2 separate regions of the Homo sapiens genome follow, and region 1 is linked to region 2. Evidence: promoter capture Hi-C in 16 types of primary human blood cells and fetal thymus (Javierre and others, 2016). All regions are on one chromosome and are shown on one strand. Each heading gives the region's core, a stretch centred on a gene start or on the middle of the fragment in contact. The rest is flanking DNA. Distances are from core to core; before and after follow the strand shown. Region 1 has its middle 3.2 kb from the start of CFAP54. Region 2 holds the start of BLTP3B (bridge-like lipid transfer protein family member 3B).

Evidence for each region. Contacts are between HindIII fragments. The CHiCAGO score rates a contact against its expected background, and 5 or more counts as called.
Region 1: a fragment that was not itself captured here is called in contact with the fragment with the promoter of BLTP3B in region 2 in 1 of 17 cell types (neutrophils); the score reaches 7.1 in neutrophils.

The regions. Positions count from the first base shown.
Region 1 is chr12:96,484,101-96,488,697 of GRCh38, reverse strand. No RefSeq gene overlaps it. Among named protein-coding and RNA genes, the nearest start is that of CFAP54, 3.2 kb to the left of the region's middle. RefSeq lists enhancers at 3,157-3,296, 3,307-3,356 and a silencer at 4,125-4,322. The HindIII fragment of the contact is 666 bases long and covers 1,355-2,020 here.
Region 2 is chr12:100,140,622-100,145,218 of GRCh38, reverse strand. It overlaps BLTP3B (bridge-like lipid transfer protein family member 3B), which reads left to right and starts at 2,345. Exons shown (of 21, transcript NM_015054.2): 1 at 2,345-2,627. The coding sequence starts at 2,584. It overlaps BLTP3B-DT (BLTP3B divergent transcript), which reads right to left and starts at 2,164. Exons shown (of 2, transcript NR_186018.1): 1 at 1,876-2,164; 2 at 548-679. RefSeq lists silencers at 2,181-2,360, 2,681-2,930 and an enhancer at 2,037-2,800. The HindIII fragment of the contact is 10,318 bases long and covers 1-4,597 here.

The DNA.
Region 1 (4,597 bases), core at 438-2,937, 3.7 Mb after region 2:
CATGGAACTAGTCCCCCACAGATAGCCAGGGAGTACTGAATATGCAGCTGATCCATTCTCTTTCCTCTATTTGTACCTTGAGGTCTGTAACTGTGGACATGATGTCTATGCCTCTAATAATTATGATTACATCTATTTATGCACATTCCAGCCTTACTTTAATTATCTCTGTATTCTAAATTAATGTGCATTTTGCTCAACCTTAACCATAGGACATTAATACATACTAGTGGCCTGAAGTGTTAACTCTCAAAATACTTTGCATTTTAAACAGGGCTTTTAGGAGACTTTACTTCTGATGGGGAAACTACAGACCTCCAGGGAAATACTTGGGGAGTTTATTCTTAGCCTGTGTATTATAGGCAAAAGTCAGAGTTAAATTTATTAAAGTATGAGTATTGAGAAAATGGAGAACCTTCTTTTCTATAAATTATGCAACACAATAAATTATCTAAGAGAAGAACCAGAAATATTTGGTGGCTTAGAAAAATCAGTCTTTAACCCTGAAAATTGTTACCAGTTCTATCACACTTAAATAAAGACAGTGACCCTAACACCCTGTGAACCCAATTTTCCATTTCAGACTAAGAAGCTTATTGGACCACAGCCTGATATCTTTCAAGTCTGACCTAATTTTATGCAGGCTCTGTGGGCCTGTGCTAATTTGTGAGGCTGGCCTAATATGTCATGTCTACTGTACCCTAATATTCTTTGAAGGAAAATAATTTTGCTCATCGGCACAGTTAATTATAGCCAGAGAAACTTCCTGGCAAGCAGTGAGACGCAATGACACCTCACTGTAGGAGTCCAATTCTCTAATCAGGATGTAGATATCATCCTTTGATCAACAAAGATTTTATCTTGTTCTCTAAGTGAACAACAAAAATTGTAAGGCTTTAAAGAATGTAGTCCTAGAGAAATAATCACTGGGCATTTACAAAAATATTAATAGACATTTTTAAAAGTCGGCTTGGTAAATTCTCTTTTTTCTCATCTTTTTCTTGCTCTAACATGGCAGACTTGTCCATTGCAGATCAAAAACTGGTGTAATTTGCCACTGAGTGCTATCTATTATATTGATGAAAGTGAAACAGCAGGATAAAATTAATTAAAGTGGTCACAGAAAAGGAAAGAAAAAAATAAAAGACAAAGTGGTGTTTTTCCTTCTAATCTGGCTACTGTCACAAACAAACTTTATCATAGGGCAGACACTTGTATTTCAAAGTCACTGGTAAAAGAAAATGTGACTAAGCAAATTCAAATACCTGAATTATGAAACATTGCATCTTAGTCACTTTCCCCCTTGCACACACTAAAGCTAACAATGCTTAACTTGCAGTAGTTTTTGGAAGCTTGTCTGAATATTTAAATGGGTGTTATATTCTGAATCATCATTATGATAAGATGGAAGTTTACATTTTATTTAGTTTAAATTAAATTGGCTGGGTGTCGTGGCTCACGCCTGTAATCCCAGCACTTCAGGAGGCTCAGGTGGGCGAATCACTTGACGTCAGGAGTTCGAGACCAGCCTAGCCAACATGTTGAAATCCCGTCTCTACTGAAAACACAAATATTAGCTGGGCGTGGTGTCGGACACCTGTAATCCCAGCTACTCAGGAGACTGAAGCAGGAGAATCGCCTGAACCCGGGAGGTGGAGGTTGCAGTGAGCCGAGATCATGCCACTTCACTCCAGCCTTAGCGACAGAGCTAGACCCCATCTCAAAATAAATAAATAAATAAATAAATAAATAAATAAATAAATAATAAAAATAAAATAAATAAATTGAATTTGAGGCATTTTTAACATTTTAGAGGTGTTATCTTCCTTGTAATTAGATGCAGCCATTATAATATCTTTCTCTTTCCTTGTCACTTTGCTTTATTCTTCTCACTGTAATGAAAGAATGGAGCTGTGCAACTACTGTGTCTGACAAGCCTAAGTACTGTAAATAGCTTCCTTATAAATAATGTAAATTGCTATTTCTTATAATTAACATCTTCGCAGGCTGCAGGGAAGCTTTTTGCCCATTCGAAAGTCTTTTTTATCTAAAGCTACTGACTGTTAAAGAATATGCAAGGTTAGTGCTCTTTCAATTCTCAATTTAGTTGTTAATCATTTGGACTATCCCAAATAGATACAATATATATGATCTACCTAATATGTAGACTTTTTAAAACTTCTTCATCCATTTATTCAGATAAATGCAACCATTTTGTTAGTGTCCATACAAGGCATAGATGAACCCATACATTCCCTACAGGAAGCAGATAACACAAACTCAAATAATCATAATTAAAAGGCATGCTATGGATTAGCTGGACATGGTGGCATGTGCCTGTAATCCCTGCTACTTAGGAGGCTGAGGCAGGAGAATCACTTGATCCCAGGAGGCGAGGTTGCAGTGAGCCGAGATCGCGCCACTGCACCCCAGGCTGGGTGACAAAGTGAGACTCCATCTCAAAGAAAAAAAAAAAAAAGGAAAAGAAAAAGAAAGAAAGAGAGAAAAGAAAGAAAGAAAGAAAGAAAGAAAGAAAGAAAGAAAGAAAGAAAGAAAGAAAAGAAAAGAGAAAAGAAAGGAAAGGAAAGGAAAAGAAAAGAAAAGAAAAAAGAAAAGAAAAGGCATGCTGTGGAATGTGCTGTGAGAAAGGTTTTAAGAAATGTGGGACCGCCAGGTGTGGTCACTCACGCCTGTGATCTCAATACTTTGGGAGGCCGAGGTGGGTGGATTGCTTGAGGCCAGGAGTTTGAGACCAGCCTGGGCAACACAGTGAGACCCTGTCTCTGATTTTTAAAAAAAATTTTTTTAATTAGCCTGGCATGGTCACATGCACCTGAAATCCCAGCTACTCAAGAGGCTGAGGCAGAAAGATCACTTGAGCCAGGAGTTTGAGGCTGCAGTGAGCTATAATCACCCCACTGTATTCCAGTCTGAGCTACAGAGCAAGATCTTTTCTCAAAAAAAAGAGAGAGGAGGGGAGGGGCAGGGGAGGGGAGGGCAAGGGGGAAGGAAGACTGTGGGAGTTCTAAGATGAATCTCGGAACTGGAAAGAGAACAGAGAATTCTAGAGGAGATGATGTTTTAGCCCCAGACCGTAAATGCCTCTCACTCACAGAAAGACCCTTGCAACAAGCATTTACCTTCTTCCCATGGTAACCTAGCACCCAAATCTGGCACCTGGCACAGAGTACAGCTCAATACATCTTTGTTGGAATGAGCAAATGAAGAAAAAGAAAAAAAAAGATGAAGAGCATTTAGAAGGATATGCCTGACTGAGAGAAAAGCCTGAGTAAGGTACAAAGCCATAAACACATACAGCAAGTCTAAATAAACAAGCTGTCTAGTGTGGTGAGCCACAGGCTGCCATAGATCCGGAGGCAGAAGATGAGGCAGAAAGGGAAGTGTGATCAAATACAATGGGGAGTTGGAAGGTATGCTGAGTAATTCTGACTTGGTTTTGACTTGGTTCTGTATTCAGGAGAGAGGTTTTGTGGTTTTGTTTTGTTTTTGAGACAGATTTTCACTCTTATCGCCCAGGCTGGAGTGCAATGGCACAATCTCAACTCACTGCAACCTCTGCCTCCCGGGTTCAAGCGATTCTCCTGCCTCAGCCTCCCGAGTAGCTGGGATTACAGGCGCCCGCCACCACGCCCAGCTAATTTTTGTGTTTTTTAGTAGAGATGGGGTTTCACCATGTTGGCCAGGCTGGTCTCGAACTCCTGACCGCAGGTGATCCACCTGCCTCAGCCTCCCAAAATGCTGGGATTACAGCCGTGAGCCACTGCACCCGGCCAAGAGAGGCTTTGTTTAAAAAAAAAAAAAAAAAAAAAAAAACAGTACATTAAAGATGTTAAAAGCCCACGCAGTGGCTCACACCTGTAATCCCAGTGAAACGGAAAAGTTCCCTTGTCCCCCTTGCAGGGCGTGCGATGGGGGTGTGGATCGCTTCTTGAGTGCCCCGCTGCTCAAACCTCTAGGGGAGTATACAGACAGGCAGGCTGTGGGGTTCTGACCCCAAGGCAGTGTCTAGGGGTAAATGTTTACAGCTGAAGCCCCAGTGGGCATGTGTTACAGGGTGCTCTTTTAGTTTAGTCATCCATAGGCAGCTTGCTAGCTCAGTTAGACCCCTGCCTTATCGCAAGGACAGAGGGCTTTCTGAATCCCGGGGTTCTTGCCTTGGTGTACGGGAAGAACCGGATCACACGTGGGCCTGGAGAATGAGTGCAAGGTTTTATTGAATGGAAGTAGCTCTCAGCAGATGGGGGAGCCAGAAGGGAGATGGCTTTCCCCTGGAGTGGGGCTGCTTAGCGGCCTGGGCTCTCCTCCGACTGCCCCAGCCAAACTCTGCCTCGTTCTGCCAGTGGATGGCCGTGCGGCGTGCCAACGTCTATCGGTGTGCTCTTCCGCTGGCGTGCTCTCTTTGACGTCCTCTCGACATCTAGCCTCTTGTGTCTTTTTCAACCGATGTGTTCCTCTCCATGTCCAGCCACCTGTAGGTCTGCCTGCTAGGGTCTTCGGGGTTTTTATAGGCACAGGATAGAGGCGTGGCAGGCCAGGGTTGTCTTGGCAAATGCAACATTTGGGCATGAAGGCAGAA
Region 2 (4,597 bases), core at 1,096-3,595:
CAACCCCAGGATACTTGAATAGTGCCTGGTTTATAATCTATGATAAATGTTGAGTGTAGTCAGCTGGGTGTGGTGGCTGATGCCTGTAATCCCAACACTTTGGAAGGCTGAGGCGGGCGGATCACGTGAGGTCAGGAGTTCGAGACCAGCCTGGCCAACATGGTGAAACTCCGTCTCTACTAAAAATACAAAAATTAGCCTGGTAATCCCAGCTACTTGGGAGGCTGAGGCAGGAGAACTGATTGAACCTGGGAGGCGGAGGTCGCAGCGAGCCAAGATCGTGCTGCTGCATTCCAGCCTGAGCGATGGAGTAAGACTGTCTCAAAAATAAAATAAAAATAAAATGAAATGTTGAGTGTAGTCAACTTACACGTCTATCCTTTCCATTCTTCAAAAAGGGCCAGCTTATTGGACTATGTGTAAACTACTTCCCACCCAACTCCCAAGATGTACAACCACACATCTTGCTAATACATCCCTCAGGGGTGGTACAATTTCTTTTCCTGTTTTAGATATCACTAGTGTTAAAAGAAAAACTTCAGCCAAATTAAATTTAAAGGAGTTTAACAATGAACGATTCCTGAGTCTGGCAGCCCCCATAATCACAGCAGATTCAGAGAGACTCCAGCACAGCCACATGCTGGGAGCAGATTTCTGGCCAGCAAAAGGAAAGTGAGGTCTAGAAAATGGAAGTGAGGTACAGAAACAACTGGATTGCTTACAGCTCAGTGTTTGCCTTATTTGAACACAGTCTGAACAGTTGGCTACATCTGGCCAAAACTCAGTGATTGGCACAGGTGTGGGCTATGGTCGGTTTATACCTCTGCTTATTTTCATAAGTTCATGATGTACAGAAAAACCTTTAGGCTGAACTCAATTACGTAAGGAGGCAGTGTTAGGCTAAACTTGACTTAACACTGAGTAATTTTTTTTTTTTTTGAGACAGTCTTGCTCTGTCGCCCAGGCTGGAGTGCAGTGGCTTGATCTCAGCTCACTGCAACATTTGCCTCCCGGGTTCAAGCAATTCTCCTGCCTCAGCCTCCTGAGTAGCTGGGATTACAGGCGCCCGCCACTATGCCCAGCTAATTTTTGTATTTTTTTTTTGTAGACACAGAGTTTCACCATGTTGGTCAGGCTGGTCTTGAACTCCTGACCTCAAGTGATCTGCCTGCCTCGGCCTCCCAAAGTGCTGGGATGACAGAAGTCGTCATTTTAATCTCTGAAAATGTTAGCTCTGTTTGGGATTGGGTGGGGTGGAGGTGTAGAATTGTAACAGTTTTCCCTAGTTCAACAATTTCCTTCCTTCCTTACAGAACTTTTCATATGATATTTACACCTTTAGGTTCAACCTAGTGAAGTGGGTAAGGCTGATGATTAATCTATTTCACAGATGATTAAAATGAAACTAATAGTAAAGAAATTATTTTCCCCAGGATAACACAGCTAGAAAATACCAGAGCCAGGACTTGAATTATACACCTTCTAATTCCTAGGTCCTAGACTACTAGGAACCATTGTCAACCTTTACTTCCCTTAGAATAGCAATAACCAAAGGAAACATTAAATTGCCACATTTAGGTAAGGGAAAGGCAGGACACCTTAACAAAAGAAAAAAAAAAAACACCAAAAACAAAAACCTAAGGAAGAATATGAAGAAAGGTGAGTAGGTCAAGAGAGCAAAGCAAGCACAGGAGTTAATGGCCGATTCTTAAAACATTCTAAGGAGGCCGGGTGCAGTGGCTCACGCCTGTAATGTCAGCACTTTGGGAGGCTAGGAGGGTGGATCACGAGGTGAGAAGTTCGAGACCTACTGGCCAATATGGTGAAACCTCGTCTCTAATAATACAAAAATTAGCCGGCCGTGGTGGTGCGCACCTGTAATCCCAGCTACTCAGGAGGCTGAAGCAGGAGAATCGCTTGAACCCTGGAGGTGGAGGTTGCAATGAGCCGAGATCGTACCACTGGACTCCAGCCTGTGTGACAGAGCAAGACTTGTCTCAAAAAAAAAAACAAACAAGCAAAAAAATAAAAAACATTCTGAGGAAATGAATAAGGGAAGTAGGACGTGGAAGTAAAAATCAGCGACGGGTCAGCGATGGAGGCGGGAACACCAGCAGAGGGAAGGAGGGAGGATTAAGGCCAAGAAGGATGGTGTATTGAGAGTCAAGGGCCCTGTGTCGCGAGGGCTAAGAACCCTGGCGCCAATGCCACAAACCTCCCGCCCCCGCCCAGAGCCCAGCCAGAGCCCAGCCAGAGCCCGCCCAGAGCCCGCCCAGAGCCGGCGTTGGCCCCGCCCCGCCTCGTGCCGGCCCCGCCTGGAGCCGCCCCGCCCCCGCCCTCCACCGAGTCTCTTAGGTGATGCTGCAGCCAAGATGGCGCCCGCGGCGGCCGTGGCGGCCTGAGCGTGATGCTCCGGGTTCTCGGCGGCGGCTGTGGCCTTGGCCGGGGCCTTGGGTCTCTCCCGGTCGTGAGCGATCAGCGCCTCTCCGCCGGCCGGGCTAGCCGGGACAGAGAGGAGACGGCCACGAAGAGAGGAGGCAGTGAGCAACAGGACGAGACCGCGGCGTCTCCAGCCTCGGTACCATGGCCGGGATCATCAAGAAACAAATCTTGAAGCACCTCTCCAGGTCAGTGAGCGCCTCGGTGTCGGCGCCAGTCGGCCTCCACCCCAGCCCGCACTGGAGTCAGCCTGCGGCTTCGGGGGCGGCGGCGCCTGGCGGCTGTGCGGGAGGCGACCTTCGGACTTCCCCGCTCTGGCCGGGGCAGAGGTCGCGGCCCCGGATCTCTTGTCGCCGGCGGCGCCGGGGGCTGGCCTCACGAATCGGCCCCTGACGCGTCTTCTCCCAGGGTGGGCGCGCGGAGGAGCCCGGAGTGCGGAGCGCGGCGGGCTGGGATCGCTCCCGGCGCGGCGTCTGGGGGCGTCCCGGCTCGGCTCTGTGCGGTACTGAGCGGAGGCTGGAGGTGGCCTGGCGTCACCCAAGTGCCTGGTTAATGTGCTGGGCTCTAACTCGAGTTCGGTGCTCCTTCCCCTTGGAGCAGAGCGGTTCCGTTAACCGAGGGCTTCTGGCGCAGTGTGGACGCTCAGTGGAGGCTGTGTTCTCAGTGGAACGTTAACCTTGTGATTGTTCTGAATTCCTCCCACCTTGGCGTTCCCGCTCTGTGGCATCAGAGGGTGTGCCTGTTTGCACAGTTAGGATTTGTTTTAGGTAAATAAGCAGAGTTCGCAGCTTTGGCAGGTTCTTTCTGGAGTCCTATGAGACCCACATCATTATTACTGAACATTTTTTTTTTTTGGTTTTTGCTCTTTTTCCTCTGCAACTCTAAAATTCAGGGAGTTAACATCTGTGGTGATTAAACCCAAGACATGTCATTCTCTCCATTTCATAACGCGGTTTTAGTCAGAAACATGACTCAGTAAGGCTGGCAGTTTGTTACTGCTCTTGGCTTCTCCGTGTTTGTCTCAAGACACAGGCTAAATGTAGGCTCTTGTTCCAAGTTGTTACCAGCGAACTCAAAGCCCTTGGTTAGGATCCCTTTCTGTTCGATTTGTAAGTTAATTTTAACTAATTTTGGGAAGACACGGGTATGATTATAGACTTGTATAGTAAACATAATTCTTGATTCCCCAGATTGTCTTATACCACAGGTTATATATTGGGAACAGAATTCTACTTCTGTGATTCAGCAAATATTTTCCTCACTTATAATACTGAATAAGATATAGCACTTTTCTTAAAAGTAGCAAAGTATAGCAGCGTGTGTGTGTGTGTGTACATATATATACATATGTACATATATACATATACATATATACACATATATACACATACATATATATGTGTACTACATATATATGTGTATACACTACACATATATATGTGTATATATGTAGTATTTTTTTAGTAGAGACTGGGTTTCACCAGGCCAGGCTGGTCTTGAACTCCCAACCTCAGGTGATCCGCGGTCCTCGGCCTCCCAGAGTGCTGGGATTACAGGTGTGAGCCCCCACGCCCTGCATGAATATGTATTTCTTAATGTTATCACTCATTGAAAAGTTTCTTTTAAAATTATATATATGGCCCAATCTTGAACTATCTTATTTTGGAAGGTTTTATCTATTTTTAATTTATGTCCTCCCGCCTTTCTCATACCCAGCTCCACAAGAAAATACAGATCTGCAGAAAATGATTTGAATGCCTACTTTCTCACTCGTCCAAGGATGATGCTGCATAGCTAGTACCACTCTAGATGCTTGGAAGAAAAGTTAATTCAATCAACAGATAGTGCATTAGAGTTTAATTCTTTTATAGAACTCCATTTGAGAGGGGCTCTTAAAAATTAAGAGCATGCATACCAAAGTATAATAAAAAAAATTAAGAACAAAGATGTAATGGCTTACTGCATGAGATAGAAAACACCCATATATTGAAAATTGAGTCTTTAGGGCTAGTTTTTATTTTATTTTATATATATATATATATATATATATTTTTTTTTTTTTTTTTTTTTTTTTTGAGACAGAGTCTCACTCTGTTTCCCAGACTGGAGTGCAATGGCATGATCTCGGCTCACGGCAGCCTCTGCCTCCTGGCTTCAA